Regions from separate parts of the Homo sapiens genome. Here region 2 is linked to region 1. Evidence: promoter capture Hi-C in human tissues and cell types (Jung and others, 2019). All regions are on one chromosome and are shown on one strand. The core of a region is centred on a gene start or on the middle of the fragment in contact, and the rest is flanking DNA. Distances in the headings are between cores, read along the strand shown. Region 1 holds the start of SUSD5 (sushi domain containing 5). Region 2 overlaps UBP1 (upstream binding protein 1).

The links. The method cuts DNA at HindIII sites, captures the fragments that hold promoters and counts their contacts. A contact is called where the count stands out against the background at its distance.
Region 2: a fragment that was not itself captured here is called in contact with the fragment with the promoter of SUSD5 in region 1 in 1 of the 25 tissues and cell types used here (hippocampus).

The regions. Positions count from the first base shown.
Region 1 is chr3:33,217,214-33,221,696 of GRCh38, reverse strand. It overlaps SUSD5 (sushi domain containing 5), which reads left to right and starts at 2,887. Exons shown (of 5, transcript NM_015551.2): 1 at 2,887-3,011. The coding sequence starts at 2,900. The HindIII fragment of the contact is 17,520 bases long and covers 1-4,483 here.
Region 2 is chr3:33,413,451-33,418,010 of GRCh38, reverse strand. It overlaps UBP1 (upstream binding protein 1), which reads left to right. Exons shown (of 16, transcript NM_014517.5): 3 at 1,177-1,253. It also overlaps a transcript of FBXL2 not described here and the pseudogene RNU7-110P. Among named protein-coding and RNA genes, the nearest start is that of UBP1, 25 kb to the left of the region's middle. The HindIII fragment of the contact is 5,299 bases long and covers 1-4,560 here.

The DNA.
Region 1 (4,483 bases), core at 1,638-4,137:
GGCCTTCTATTAAACCTTCTTTATTTTTTAGTGCAAGGACTGAAATTCTGATTTTTAAAGTATTTGTTACTGAAGTATAAGTATTCAATTAAATACAAAGATTTCAAGTGTACAGTTTAGGGATGTTTGACAAACATATACACTCATGTGACCACCATCCCCATCAGGAATAGAACATTTTCATCACTTCAGATGTTCCCTTGTGTTCCCGTTCTATCAAAGGCAACCACTGTGTTGACTGTTTTCACCACAGATTAGTTTTGTCCTGTCTTGAACTTCATATAAATGGAATTACACAGTATGAATTGTTTTGTGTAAGACTTCTTTCACTCTGTATGCTATCCTTGAGATTCTTTCACGTGTTGAGTAGTTCATTCAGTAGTTCATTCCTGTTGTCGAATAGTATTCTATTGTGTGAATATGACAGTTTGTTTTTCTATTCATCTGTTGATGATATCCGAATTCCTTCTAGTTTTTGATCATTGCAAATAAAGCTGCTATGAACAGTTGTGCACAAATATTTTTGTGAATATAGGTTCTCATTCTTTTGGATATAATCCTAGGAGAGGAATTTCTGGGTCCTAAGGCAGGTATATGTTTAGATGGAACAGCCGGTTTTCTAAAGCAACCATACCAATTACCCTTACAGCATGCCATCTCCTCACATCAGGACAGGCCAAGACAATTGTGAATAAGCATAATCTTGAAAATGTTAGGAGAATTAAGTAGTAATATTCAATTGACTGTTTTTAAAATGTTCCTAGGCAAAGCTCCTGAGTGAGTGAGTTGGTAGCTCTTGGCAGGTACCTTCTGATCCCTCCCCTCCGTTCTCAGCACTAACCAGGCTTTAAAATGACCCCTCCAGTCCAGACATGTGAAGTCTCACTCCTTAGGTTACCAGCTAACTGTTAAAAGGGAAGGAGCTGGCCGGGTGTGGTGGCTCATGCCTGTAATCCCAGCACTTTGGGAGGCCGAGGCCGGCGGATCACGAGGTTAAGAGATCGAGACCATCTGGCCAACATGGTGAAACCCCGTCTCTACTAAAAATACAAAAATTAGCTGGGCGTGGTGGTGCACGCCTGTAGTCCCAACTACTCGGGAGGCTGAGGCAGGAGAATCGCTTGAACCTGGGAGGCTGAGGTTACAGTGAGTCAAGATCGCTCCACGGTACTCCAGCCTGGCAACAGAGCGAGACTCTATCTCAAAAAAAAAAAAAAAAAAAAAAAAAAGGGAAGGAGCTAAGTAAATTCATTTATACTTGTCAGGCCTCACTGCATTTAACACCTCACTGCATTAACAGCTACCACGCCCGGCTAATTTTTGTATTTTTGTAAAGATGGAAATTTCACCATGTTGGCCAGGCTGGTCTCCAACTCCTGATCTCAGGTGATTGGTCGGCCTCCGCCTCCCAAAGTGCTTGGATTACAGGCCTGGGCAACCGTGTCCGGCCAGTATTTGTATTTTGAAAGCAAAGTTTAATTATCCAAAATAATTACTCATTAATAGTAGCCCTTGTAGTTGATGGGAAGTAATAAGGAGAGAAGAAATCTTTTCAGTACATTTCAACAATTAATGCAAGCTGAAAAATGACACCTGTAGTAAATCAGATGTGGATTCAAATCCAAGTTCTTACTGTGAAAAGAAAGTAAATTATTTCAATGTCTGTGTCCTGGTTCATTAAATGAGGATAATCATCTGCCCCTTTAGCACCAATCACTTTTTCAATTGTAAGTATATTTTATTTAAGTGTGAACATTTTTAGGACCGATTGCAGCCACATTCAGGGTCTAGCACAGGGACAGGCATGTATGGGCACTCAATAGATGTTTGTTGACCCATACATCAATATAAAAGGGATTTGCAAATTGTAGAGCACCGCGCATGCCTCAGTTATAACAATACTGATCTTTATTACTCTACCTATGAAGAAAGCAAGTTCTTCTTTCACTGAACAGGGCTGGTGGTAGGGAGACAGGCTAGGGGCGAGCAGGAAGAAGGAATCAAGTCAAACAGGGACCCCTGCAGCAGAATCCATTGGGACACTTTAACTTAGAGTGTAGATTCCCAGACCAGACCGACAGAGTCCGAATCTCAGACCCTTTCGAGGTCAAAAAGCCCTGATTTGGGAGGTGGGTGATAATGGTGACAATCTCACTAGCCCTCTTACTGCTCCTTGAGAAATACTAGCGTACCAGGAAAAGTGGTGAAGGAAGCGTTCCTGAAGATATCCTTTCCTCAGTGACTCTCAAACTTCGCTTTTAGGAAAGAGGAATTTCGCTATTCCATGCGTTTCACACCTTAGAGTGAGGGTGGTAGGTAACTTAGATTTTCCTCTCTTCATTAAAAAAAAAAAAAAAAAAGAGTGTTGGTGGGGAGGGGGAGGAGGCCAGTTGAAAAGTAGAGGCCGAGGACAGAGTTAGACACTCGTTGTCTAACGGCCCTGCCGGAGGGGCTCCGCCTGTCAGACTGCGTCACCCTCTCGCCAAGGGTCCCCCAGACGGGCGGGGGCTCCTTGCGGCCGGCTAGCTACTCTCCCCGCCTCCCTGCGCCCTCGCCCTCCGCCCCGCTGTACCCGCAGAGCGCGCGGCCCAGCGCAGCCCCTTTTGGCACCGAGGTTTCCAGGTGCCCAGCGCGAAGGCGGAGCCGGGTTACAGCCGCCTCCTCGGCGCCACAGAGAAGACCCCCGGGAGTTCGGCGGCCCAGGCGCTCCGGCTCTGCGTCCCGAGCCTCCCCCGGCTCTCCGCGCTCCTCCCTCTCGGCGCGCCCGGCGCGAAGCCTGCGATTCGTGAGCCGAGCGCAGAGCGCAGAGCCGAGTGGCGCACGCTGGGCAGTGGCCTGGGCAACCCCAAACGCAGCCAGAGCCCTCACCCGAGTCCGCTGGCCCGCGCACTCCCGGACCATGACTGCCGAGGGACCCAGCCCGCCTGCCCGTTGGCACAGACGCCTCCCCGGGCTCTGGGCGGCGGCGCTGCTCCTGCTCGGTCTGCCGCGCCTTTCGGTGCGGGCGGATGGTGAGTGTGCGGGAGGCGGCGGGGCGGGGGGTGGAGCGTGGGGTCCGGGCAGGGAGGGCGTAGCTCGCCGGGGCTGCTCCCTCTGACCGGCCCGGCAAGCGGCAAGCGCAAGCCTGAGAGGAACGAACGAGCCGCGGTCCTGCGACCCAGCATCCCTCTCCTGGCCCACCAAGTCTCCGCGTGCCCGTGCGCCCAAACGCCCGCCTGGTGCCTGGACCCTCCCTTAGCGCCGAGCGCGTAGGTCCCGCAGTCCCGCCGCTGGCTTTCCTAAGGTCTCCAAGAAAGCTCGAATGAAATCACCTCTAAGGTGCCCTAGAACCTCCTCTGCTAAGGGGTGATTTTCCGCCGTCCCTCAGTTTCTCAACGTCTATTAATGTGCCCCTGAGGACACCGCCGATGGTTAGAAAACTCCCTCGGATATTTTGGCTTGGTCCGGGAAGACGTGAAAGATGAGTGGGAATCAGCGAGGCTAAGAGAGAGAGAATGGCCTGGCCAGAGGGAAAAGCACGTGCAAAGGCTGTCTCTGAGTGACAGGAAAAACGGGACAAATGATAAAGCAAAGTACCTGGAGGCGAGGGGACGTCTTGAGACATGAGGTAGAGAAGTGGGCAAGGGCCAGATTATGGCAGGTTCTCTGAGAATTGATCCACTTCTTGTTCGTTTGCTTGGTTTTTCAGCCTGAATTTAGCTTGTAATACTTGCCCTAAAATGAGCAGGATTGGAGCTCTGTATCCATTCCCTTTTGAAAAGCTAATTCAGCTGTGTTTTCATATTAGAACAAAATCCCGCTGACTTGGTACAGGAGCATCTGAAGGAAGCAAGCTTAAAGCCAGCAGTTCTCACACCCATGAGGTAGTTCTAGCTTAGGACGAATTAGACTGATAAAAGAGAAAAGCCCTCCGTCAATTTAGGATGCGTTGTATATTTTAAAATGTGATTCTTGTTTAGCCAACGATATTGAGTGAAACTAGAAGACATGGGGAAAAAAAAAAAAAGCATGGTTGTCAGGAAAAGGGGAAAGCCAAGGAAAAAACCGTCTAGGTCGTAGAGTTTTTAGTGCTCTCTGTTTTAAGTGCAGGCTTGAAAAGCTCTCCGTTCCTAATTAAGGATGAATGTCGTATTTCTCCATATCCTCAGAGAGAGTGTTAGAGACAAAACATTTTTAACTTTGAAGGCTGTTAGTAACCACTGCTAATTTTTTTAATTGACATGTATTTCACATAAAATTTGTCATTTTAAAATATACAGTTAAGTGGGTTTTAGTATATTCATTAGGTTGTGAAAACCATGGTTTGCATGCATCTAATTCCAGAACATTTCCATCACTCCTCAAAAGAATCCCATACCTATTAGCAGTTTACTGATAATTCTTCACTGTAGTGTTTTTTGACTGACATTGAGCCATGAAAATTAAGCTGATTTTAAAGAATGCAAGTAGAATAAATTGGAGCTAATATTAATCTTTGAACAAG
Region 2 (4,560 bases), core at 975-3,474, 200 kb before region 1:
GGTGTTTTTTAGTGTTTCTCTGTCTGTTGAATGAATGTAAGCAACTTTTCTTTGTAACAGACTATATATATGCTGTTTTCCTTCACCAGCCTTGGAGTGATGTAGTTGTATTTTGATAACCCCTTGTTGAATTTTGACCCTATAATCTAGAATCCTTTGTATATTTTTCTGTAAGCCCCCTGGGAGTATGGACAAGGTGTTGGTAGTTATAAAGATTCTCAACTTCATGTGATATTATAAGCATTCTTTAATTTTTACTGATTTTCTGCATGCCAAATTATACTGTCATTTTTATTATTTAATAACAGATAATCCAGAAATCATTTTTTGTGGATTTGGAGTACATTATTAATTTTTTTACAGCAGCATTTTCCTAATTATCTAGATTGATGTGTGAATATCTGTGTTTTCTAATAAACACTAAAAGTGGAAACAACCCAAATATCCATCAGCTGATGAATGGATAAACAAAATTTGGTTTAGTCTTTACACAGTGGAATAGTATTAGGCAATAAAAAGGAATGAATATTATTTGGCAATAAAAAGGACTGATATATACTACATATGGGTGAACCTTGAAAACATTATGCTAAGTTTAAAAAGCAAGGCACAAATACCCACATATTGTATGATTCTGTTTATGAAAGTATCCAGAGTGGGCAAATCGTAGAGGCAGAAAGTGGATTGGTGATCGCTAGCAGTTGGCCAGGTGGGGGGTGGGGGAGGGATGGGAAGTGACTAATAGAGGTTTCTTCTTAGGATGATGCGAGTGTTCTAAAACTGGTAGTGGTGATGGTTGCACAACTCTGACTATACTGAAAACCAATGATTTACACACTTTTTAAAAATGTGAATTTTATGGTATGTAAACTATATCTCAGAAAAGCTGTTACAAAAATTAGTCTTAGGTAATGCAAGCATAATAAAAGTTTAGTGTAAGAGAGTGGCAGATGAAGATAAATTGACAGAGAAACTCTTGTCTCCTGTAATAATGTTAGAACAGAAGGTTGGTGTGATTTTCAGGGAAGAGAAGGATCAACCTGAATTTGCTTCCGTAGCAAATTAACAAACTATCATTGTGTAATGTATGTTCTGAGAAACATGCATTTTGAATTATGTTAAGCAAAGTGATGTTCTTTATAAGGATTGTTTTTTATACACAATTTCTTTAAATAGGTCAGTCATATGAAATTCGGATGCTGGATAATCGGAAAATGGGTGATATGCCTGAGATCAATGGAAAATTAGTAAAGGTAAGGACAGTCCATTTTAATTCCCAATGGATATTGCTGTGATTGAATGAGTTTTTGTTTAAAAAAAAATTAATTTCACTTCAATAATTGTTGTATTACAACTTTTTAACTTTATGAGCTATATTTTGTTTATTCACCTGTAAAATGGGAATTATAGCAGTTATTGGGTAGAGTAATTTTGAAAGACCCTTGGAAATCAAGGAGCAATAGAAAAGTTAGTTGTAGTTATGGGGTAAAAAACTCATCACCACAACAAAAACCTATAAGCCTCTCTAAAAGTAAAAGATAATATGGGGAAGAATGTCAATGTTGGCATAAAACTTTAAAAAATCCTTTACCTTGTAAAGTTTCATTTAAAAAATAGAAATCTCTGTTCACCCTACTCATGTATCTGAATGAAGAAGTCAGTCATCCTAGGTATAGGAGGCATAGCTGTTTTCCAGCTAACCTGTTCTTTTAGGATGTATCCTCAGAACCATCCCTGCCCCCTGGCCCCTCCTAGCCTGTATCCATCATACATCATGGCTAGTTATAAATTCCATAGCATTACAGGGCAGGGTTAATGAAAGAATCTTAATTGGGGAAAGGTAAAACCTCATGTGGCTAACTAAGTGTTAGCAAGAGACAAGTTCTCTTGATCCTTCCATCTTCCCACAGAGTGGCATGTCAGGGCCCAGGTGCTGCTGGGCCCTCAGTGTGGAGGGGCATTCTATTGGAAAGACCTGCCCTCTGTGGATCTGCCTTTTTAGTGGGTAAGCATGGGAAGGGCAGCCTTGTGGTGGGAATTGGATTCAGGCAATCTAAATTTGGTGTGTTAACTAATTTGGCATGTATGGGAAAGCCAGCTGCCCAGTACCTGGAGGGCACCTGGAAGGTTACTTAGGGATCAAATGATGGGTTACCAAAGGTGCTTTGGAACTTCTTGAATGTGCAGAACATATTCAGCAATGTGCTTTCTCTGATTGTTCTGTTTTTGTCTTTCTTTGTTCTGTGTTTTTTTTTTTGTTAATGTATCAGTGTAAAAGGGTTGGAAAGTTGTTTTAATTGTGAACTCCATAATAAAATTTAGTAGGATTTGATGGGCCCTATACTGAGGTCTTTAAAACTGGATCCAAAAATGTTAGAACAATTTTTTTAACTTTTTATTATGGTAAAATTTGAACATACCCAGAAGTAAAGAGAATGGTACAATGAATCCACATATATCCATCATATGGTGGTATATAATAAATATATCTGGTATATATCATGAGTTCTCATAAGTTCTCATGCCAACTTCAACATTCTCCACAATTTGCCAGACTTGTTTCATCTATTCCCCTTGTGCTTTTTTTGTGTATGCCGGATTATAGAATTTACTAATTTGTAATTTTAACTCAGTTCTTCATTCATGACCATTCAGTGTTCTGAGGAAAATATAACAAACTTTGACATCCAGACCAAATGCCAAAATTCAGTGTCCATCAAGGCATTGAAGAAAATCAATTCTGAAGCAATTGTCTTTGTCATTTATCAGTGGAGACAAGCTGGCTTTCCAGGGCAGTTCCCTGAATAGGTGGTAGGATTTAGAAATAATTAGTCTGATAGGTGATACCTAATGTTTAAAATATTTTGGCAAGCTGGTTAAAATACCTGTCAGATTAACTTGGGATGGCAGGGTAAAGTTGTATGACTGCTTTAAGTTCAACTTCCTTGTATTTACTTCCAAATTAAAACATGTAAAAACATTTAATATACAAAATTAATGCAAGCAAATAAATTAAGGGAAAAATGACACCTCATTATGACGTAATGAACTACTGTTAGTAGCAAAACCATTAACTTATAAATGCACAGTGAATGTTTTGCTGACATAACACTAGTATATTCCACCTAGACAAGGTTACTTATTCTGAAGGCATCAGTATCTAAATATTTAGCCCACTGATTGAAAAGGGTTCATTTTTAAAGCATTTTACATTGGCTTCATCTTCTGTTTGATAAGCCAGCTGTGTGATTTTTGGTGGATGTGCCAGGCATGCAGTTATATTCTGTAAGCTTGTCTGGGATTAAGAGCTACTGTCTGCTACTACCAAAGACTGCAGGATGAGTTTCTTGGAAATTACATCCTTTTTTTAGCTAGAGAATCCCTAAAATATGCTTCAAATTTCTAGAGTTTTATTTCCTGGCCCTAGGATCTTTGACTATACTACTTAAATTTGTGGGGGAACCTTGGGGATCAAGTGATAGGTTTGCGAAGGTGCTTTGGAACTTCTTGAATGTGCTGAACATATTTAGCAATGTGCTTTCTCTGATTGTTCTGTTTTCGTCTTTTTTTGTCCTATTTTTTTCTTTTAGTCTTATTGTTAGGGCCCCATCACATGTTGCTAGTTCTGAAAATGCAGTCAATCTCCTTTTAGGGAGAACTTTCAGATAACGAGATTTTCTCCCTGTTTCATATAAGAAGTTCCTTTCCTCTCTCCCGCCCTCCTCCCTCTCTTTCTTTTTCTTTCCCTTCCTCCCTTCCTTTTCATTCCTTTCTTTTTTCCTTTCCGTTCTTTTTTGGGTAGGGGTTTCTGGTAGAAACTGGAAAACCTGCTAGACAAATTCTAAAAGCTATATAATGCTAGAATTTTTCTTATATATCTTGTAATTTCCTAACTTTGGTCCTCCTTTTATCTTTAGTATTTTAGTCCAACCTTCTAGAATGGGGCTTAGTAAAGCTCTGAAGTCTAATACCTGTATTCTAATACTGTTTTCATCTGAATATGTGTAGTTAGTATGGTTCTTACTGAGTATGGAACAATTAGAACTGTGATATTTTCTGTGCTGTACTTTTTTCTGGAGACGAGCTGGCTAGCAGATGTGAACCACTGGCATTGGTGTCTTAGGGGCCACCACTAGCCTATGCACCATCACTATGAGAGCTTTGCTCTGGTCAGGTGATGGTGTGAAGTGGGTGCTGGGTAATTGCTTGGACAGGCCCTGCAGGTGTGGGTGCAGGTAAGGAAGATGGGAATAAAGCAGCCACTGAGCCCTATAAATGTCTCCCACATGGTACTCTTTATCTCAAAGAAAAAAATTGCTTTTAATTGGCTGCTGGGATTACAGGCATGAGCCCCACCGCACCTGGCCTAAGTTCACTTTTTCAAGGCAGCGGGCAGTGTTTCGGATTTTTGTTTTATGCCAGTTCTTTTTTTTCAAAACTCAAAGTTTTTTTTTTTTTTTTTTTGTGATGGAGTCTCGCTCTGTCACCTAGGCTGGAGTGCAGTGGTGCGAACTTGGCTCACTGCAAGCTCTGCCTCCCGGGTTCACACCATTCTTCTGC